2 separate regions of the Homo sapiens genome follow, and region 2 is linked to region 1. The links are contacts of gene promoters, found by promoter capture Hi-C in blood cells and fetal thymus (Javierre and others, 2016). All regions are on one chromosome and are shown on one strand. Each heading gives the region's core, a stretch centred on a gene start or on the middle of the fragment in contact. The rest is flanking DNA. Distances are from core to core; before and after follow the strand shown.

Region 1 (2,614 bases), core at 115-2,614:
CAAGAACCCGGCGCGGGAGGCGCTCCCCGAAAAGTTCCTAACAGACAAGGAGCGCAAGAAGCTCGAGAAGAAGCTGCTGGAGCAGAGGCGAAAGGAGGAGAAGAAGAAGGAGAAGGAGAGGAAGAAGATGGAGAAGATGCTGAAGAAGAAGAAGAAGAAGGTGCCAGAAGCCCAGGAGGAGGCCCGATGCCCCGAGGCCGCCGCCGCCGCGGCCGCCGCCGACGACGACGAGGGCGCCGAGGAGGGCGCCGTCGGGGGCGCCGAGGAGGGCGCCGCCGCCGGGGGCACGAGTAGGGCCTGGGCTGACTGGGACACGGACTCGAGCGACGAGGACGACGCCTACTACGCGGCGCCGCGCGTTGGGGGCATCGTGTGGCGGCCCGGGCCGCTCAAGGCTGGCGCGCTGAGCGCCCACCTGCCCCTCGTGGTGTTCCTGGTCTTCTCGGTGCGCAGCCCCTCGTGGGTGCTCAACTTCCTGCTGCAGAAGCGCACGGAGCAGGGCCGCGGCTGCGGCTTCGTGTTCGGGGCGACCTGCTGCTTCCGAGTGTTCCTGGGCTGCGCCTTCTTCTCCTACTTGGGCGGCCGCGCCAAGCGCAGAGGCCGCGGGCGCTCCGGGGCCAGAGGCGCCTTCGGCTCGGGCCATGGCGCCCGGCGCCGGGGGCGCGAGGAGCGGCTCATCTAGTCAGACCCCCCACCCCGCCACCGCCACCAGACACCACCATCGCTGTGTAGTGTGGGTTTTTATTCGTGTTCGTGTGTGTGTGTGGACACATTTTCCTTTTCGGTTGCTCTGTCCTTTGGTTCGTGCTCGCCTCGCTTTTTCCACACTCCTGCTCTCTGGCTCTCTGTGTCTCTCGCTCTTTCGAAAATTTTCCTAAGTCCGGGCGCGCGCTCCCTCCCCTTCCGCCCACCCCAGCCCCTCGGCGGCGCCCGCGGGAGGGGGAGGAGGCCTCGGGGGCGCCGGGCGACGCGGTCCGGGGGGTGGAGCGTTGGCGTCGTGCGAGGGGTCGTCACTGGCGCGGAGACGCCCCCTCTCCCCCCTCGGCTCAGCCGGGCTGCTGCCCGAGCCCGGGGGGTGGGGGGCGTCTCCCCGGCCCGTCCCGTCCCCGGCCGGGCGCGGGCGGAGGGACCCCCTCCCCGGGCTCCCGGGGGGCCGCCTCCCTCCGCCGGCTCCCGCCCTCCCAGCCGCCGCCGCCGCCGCGGCCGCTCCTCGGCCCTCCTCCTCCTCCTCCTCCTTCCACCCCCCTCGCCGCCGCCGCCTCCTCCTCCCCCCGCCTCCCCCCGCCCGCCGCGGCGCTTTTGGCTCGGGGCGGCGGCGGGGGCCCGGCCGAGGCAATAAGAGCGGCGGCGGCGGCAGCGGCGGCAGCAGCTCCCGCAGCTCCTGCTCTGGTCCGCCTCGGCCCGGCGGCGGCCATCAGCCCCCTCGGCCTCGGCTCGAGGGGCGGGGAGCTGCGCGCGCCCCTCGGTCCGACCGACACCCTCCCCTTCCCGCCCGTCCGCGCGCCCCGCGGCCCGCGGCCCGCAGTCCGCCCCGCGCGCTCCTTGCCGAGGAGCCGAGCCCGCGCCCGGCCCGCCCGCCCGGCGCTGCCCCGGCCCTCCCGGCCCGCGTGAGGCCGCCCGCGCCCGCCGCCGCCGCAGCCCGGCCGCGCCCCGCCGCCGCCGCCGCCGCCATGGGCTGCCTCGGGAACAGTAAGACCGAGGACCAGCGCAACGAGGAGAAGGCGCAGCGTGAGGCCAACAAAAAGATCGAGAAGCAGCTGCAGAAGGACAAGCAGGTCTACCGGGCCACGCACCGCCTGCTGCTGCTGGGTAAGGGCGGGCGGGGGGCGCCGGCCCCGGCCCGGGGGCCCTCGAAGGGCGCCCCGCAGGCCGCGCGCGCCGAGCCCGCCCCCCGCCCCGGGCGCGCGCTCCCGAGCCCCCCGCCCGTTCGCGGGCTCTGTCTGTGGGGGGCGAGGCCGGAAGGGGGACCCAGGGGCGCGGATTCGGCCGGGCGGGGGCTCAAAAACGGGGCGGGGGGCCGTGGCGACGCGGGCGCGGGTCCCCCTCCCCCGGCCTGCCCGCTCAGTGTCTCTCTCTTGCTCTCGCTCTCGCTCTCCCCCTCTTTCTCTCTTTCTCTCTTTTTCCGCGAGGCCTACACGACGCCAGGGGTTTGGGTGCGTGTTGGGGAGGGGGAGGGGGAGCCCATGGGGCTCCGGAGACTGCGACAAAAAGAGGGTTTCGGGGACAGGAAACCGGGTGGCGGGTAGAGGGAGGGGGACCCGCCTCCGTGGGGTGTGAGATTTGTTGGGAGAGGGAAAGAGGGGAAGAAAGGGGCGAGGAGAGGAGGGGGTGACGCTGGGGGGCGCCGTGGTGGCGGAGGGGGCCTCGCCAAAGGGAGGCTTTGGCGGGGAGAAGTGGCCGAGGAGAGTGGGGGGGCTGGTGACATCAGCCCCTCGGAAAGGATCGGAGCGGTAAAGGTGGTGCAGTGGGGGGGAGGGGGCGCAAGGGAGTCGTGGCGCCGGAGTCGGGAGGGGGGCGGCGAGGGGAGGAGGGAGGGCGGTTGCCGCTGGGCGCGACTTGGTGCGTTTCGGGCAGGACCGACTGACTGTGTGTGCGCGGAGCAGACGTGTCCCGG
Region 2 (3,154 bases), core at 137-2,636, 530 kb after region 1:
CTCCTACTGTTCTAGACCAAAGCAGGAAAGTTGAAGGCCCACTAGGAGGTAAAATACAATGCCTGATAGGAGAGGGTGGTGCCTGAACTGGAGAAGTCACAGGATGGAGAGAGCAGGTGGAGATGGATTCAGAGGGTTGGGGAATGATTGCATTCTGCAGAGCCAGTGAGGCCCATGGCTGGGATGTTGGGGTGATGGTGATCCAGACAAGAGCTACTCACAGGGAAGTGGAAGGGACAGCGATGAATCTTGCTTCAAAGCACATTCCCTAGGATTGGGTTTTTTAGAGCAGTTTTACATTTAGGGAAAAATTGAACAGAAAGCACAGAGAGTTCCCACACATGCCCCATACCCCTCCCCCAATAATCCTATTTTCATTAACATCTTGCCTTAGCATGCTACACTTGTTACAGTTGATGAACCAATATTGATGCATTATTATCAGTTAAAGTTCATAAGAGGGTTGACTCTTGGTGGTGTACATTCTATGGGTTTTGACAAATGTATAATGTCACGTGCCCTCAATTACAGGATCATACAGAGTCATTTCACTGCCCTAAACATCTCCTGAGCTCCACCTGTTCGTCCCTCCCTCCCCCTTGAACTCCTAACAACCACCGATCTTTTGACGTCTCTATAGTTTTGAATTTTCCAGAATGTCATCTAGTTGGACTCACACAGCATGTGGACTTTTCAAACTGGCTTCTTTTACTTAGCAAGAGGTGTTTTTTTTTTGTTTTTTTTTTTTTATGGAGTCTCACTCTGTCACCCAGGCTGGAGTGCAGTGGCACGATCTTGGCTCACTGCAACCTCCACCTCCCAGCTTCAAACAATTTCCCTGCCTCAGCTTCCTGAGTAGCTGGGATTACAGATGCATGCCACCATGCCCTGCTAATTTTTGTATTTTTAGTAGAGACGGGGTTTCACCCTGTTGGCCAGGTTGGTCTCAAGCTCCCAACCTCAGATGATCCACCTGTCTCAGCCTCCCAAAGTGCTGGGATTACAGGTGTGAGTCACTGCGCCAGGCCAGCAAGATGCTTTTACGGTTCCGTGTATGTCTTTCTGTGGATTGCTGTGTCTTTGAATTTTCAAGGTGCTGTGTTAGTATGATGGTTGTGAAGCCTGAGATGAGAAGAAGCCATGAGACACCAGATAAAGCCATCAGAGGAGCAATGTTTTGCCAACCAATGGCTCAGAGCCCACCCTGTCCCCACCCTGCCACTAGGAACCCTTGCCCAGTTCTAGAGGAGGCAAAATCATGGATGTGTCACTGGCTAATGTCCTTGTCCAAGAGTGACACAAAGGCAGGTAGAGTTTCCCGGAAGACCATGTTACCTGCCTTCATGGGCAGAATAAATTTCTCCTTTACCTATCTAGAGAGTCTTACCCAGGCAGCTCAGAGACCCCTGTGCTCAGGCTGCTCCTGGTGGGGTGAGGGGTAGATGGCAAACACCCAGCCGAGGGTCCTGTCTCCCCTCCCCGTGAGACCCCAGGGCCCCACCATCTGGGGCACGCTGGCTGCTTTCCCTGCCCAGCATGTCCAGCGGGCTGCCTTGATGAGCTCACCCTGGAACATACAGAGCCTCTTCACATGTTTTTCTTTTTCTCTTCTTATTAAAACAATAATAGCTTGACTACAAAACTATTAATCTGGCAGTAAATTATGGGAAATTTATTGCTATGGTTGTTTTTCAAAAATTGGCCATATTATCCCAGAGGAGGTACAATTAAACATTGAAGAATAAAAGTCACAAATGATTTGGACGGCGCCTCTTGTCTGAAGGTTTCAGAGACCGCCTATCCTTTTTCCATCAAATGCTCTGCAGATGGCCTCAGATGCTGAGACGTGGCAGAACTCAGTCCAAGGATAACCATGAAGTTGTCCATGGAATGATTGCGCCTCATTCCTTGCTGTTCCCTGTTGCTCTTGCAGCCTCCTGTTTGTGTTTCAGAGCATGCTTATTGTGTGGTAGGAACTAGGAGCCAACAGGGTTCCTAAAGGTAGCTTGATCTTGACCAGCGGGCTTCCAGTACAGTCAAGATATTGCCAGAACCGCCAGGAATTGGGTAACTGATGAGAGAAGAGAAGAAAATCTTGTAAATAGAAATGCCGAAGATGGTGAGAAAATGAGAGAAAGAATGACAGTGTAGGTTAAAGAGGGTCCCAATGACAGAATCCTCCCAAAATATGTTCAAAGAGGGAAAAGTACACTTGGATTCTGGAGAAGAGGGTTCTTTACTGTGCCTGGGGTCGTGGTAGTCATAGCAATCTGGGACAGGGTGTCTACATATTTGGGGCCCTGGGATCGTGCAGAATCATGGAGAGTATAATCCCAAATAAAGGCGCTGGACAACACCACTTGTAGATTTCAGGGAAGGAGAGAGATGGCAGCCACTGGTGTGGTCCAGTGCAAAGAGTGGCTGAAGGTCTTAGGTAGGGGAGATGCTCCCCAAAAGAGCAGGCACTGGGGAGGAGTGTCCTGTGGTTGTAGCCAAGGTGAAGTGGAGACAAGTTTGAGTAGATGCTGGGGGTCTTGAAAGCCACCCAGAGAATGTCATTTGTTCATTCCTTCCACCCACATCCACTGGGCACCCACTATATGCCAAGCACTGTGCAGGGCAGAGAGCAAACCCTGCCTTGGGCCATTCAGGCTTTGTTCTGTAGGCAGAGCCATGGAGAGCTGATGAGTGACGGAGGGCCAAGGTGACTCTGGGTTCTAGAGAGACGCTCCAGGCACACTTCTTCCCTTCACCCGGTCATGTTTCCTGACCTCACATCTGGTGTTATCTTTGTGGGGAAGAATTCTTCGTCTCCCTGTCTCATCCCAACTCAGGATGGGTTCCTTGGAGTAGGCGTGGAGACCGTCTATCCAGACCATCCCCTGGATGGACCTTGATTTGTGCAGGAGGGGCTCCATGAACATCCTAGCCCCATGAGCCTGCTTTGGACGTCTGCAGATCCAGGTTAGAGTCCAGGCTTTGCCTCCAGCTCCCCCCATGACAGAGCAAGTCATTTAGTGCCCTGGATTCTAACAGTAGCAGCAGCAGCAGCAGCAGCTCTCACCAGGGCAGTGTTCAGACTCATTCATTCCTTTCTCTTTCATCGCTGGGTCAGCCCCCTGCTCACGATCACCTTTGAAGTGGACACTATTAA

Evidence for each region. The method cuts DNA at HindIII sites, captures the fragments that hold promoters and counts their contacts. A CHiCAGO score of 5 or more calls a contact.
Region 2: a contact is called between a fragment that was not itself captured here and the fragment with the promoter of GNAS in region 1, in 1 of 17 cell types (naive CD8 T cells). The highest score is 5.7, in naive CD8 T cells.

The regions. Positions count from the first base shown.
Region 1 is chr20:58,890,057-58,892,670 of GRCh38, forward strand. GNAS (GNAS complex locus) reads left to right here and starts at 1,365. Exons shown (of 13, transcript NM_000516.7): 1 at 1,365-1,809. The coding sequence starts at 1,671. RefSeq lists silencers at 623-772, 833-1,332, 1,343-1,562, 2,433-2,522. The HindIII fragment of the contact is 29,581 bases long and covers 1-2,614 here.
Region 2 is chr20:59,415,647-59,418,800 of GRCh38, forward strand. No RefSeq gene overlaps it. Among named protein-coding and RNA genes, the nearest start is that of EDN3, 120 kb to the left of the region's middle. The HindIII fragment of the contact is 6,355 bases long and covers 1-3,154 here.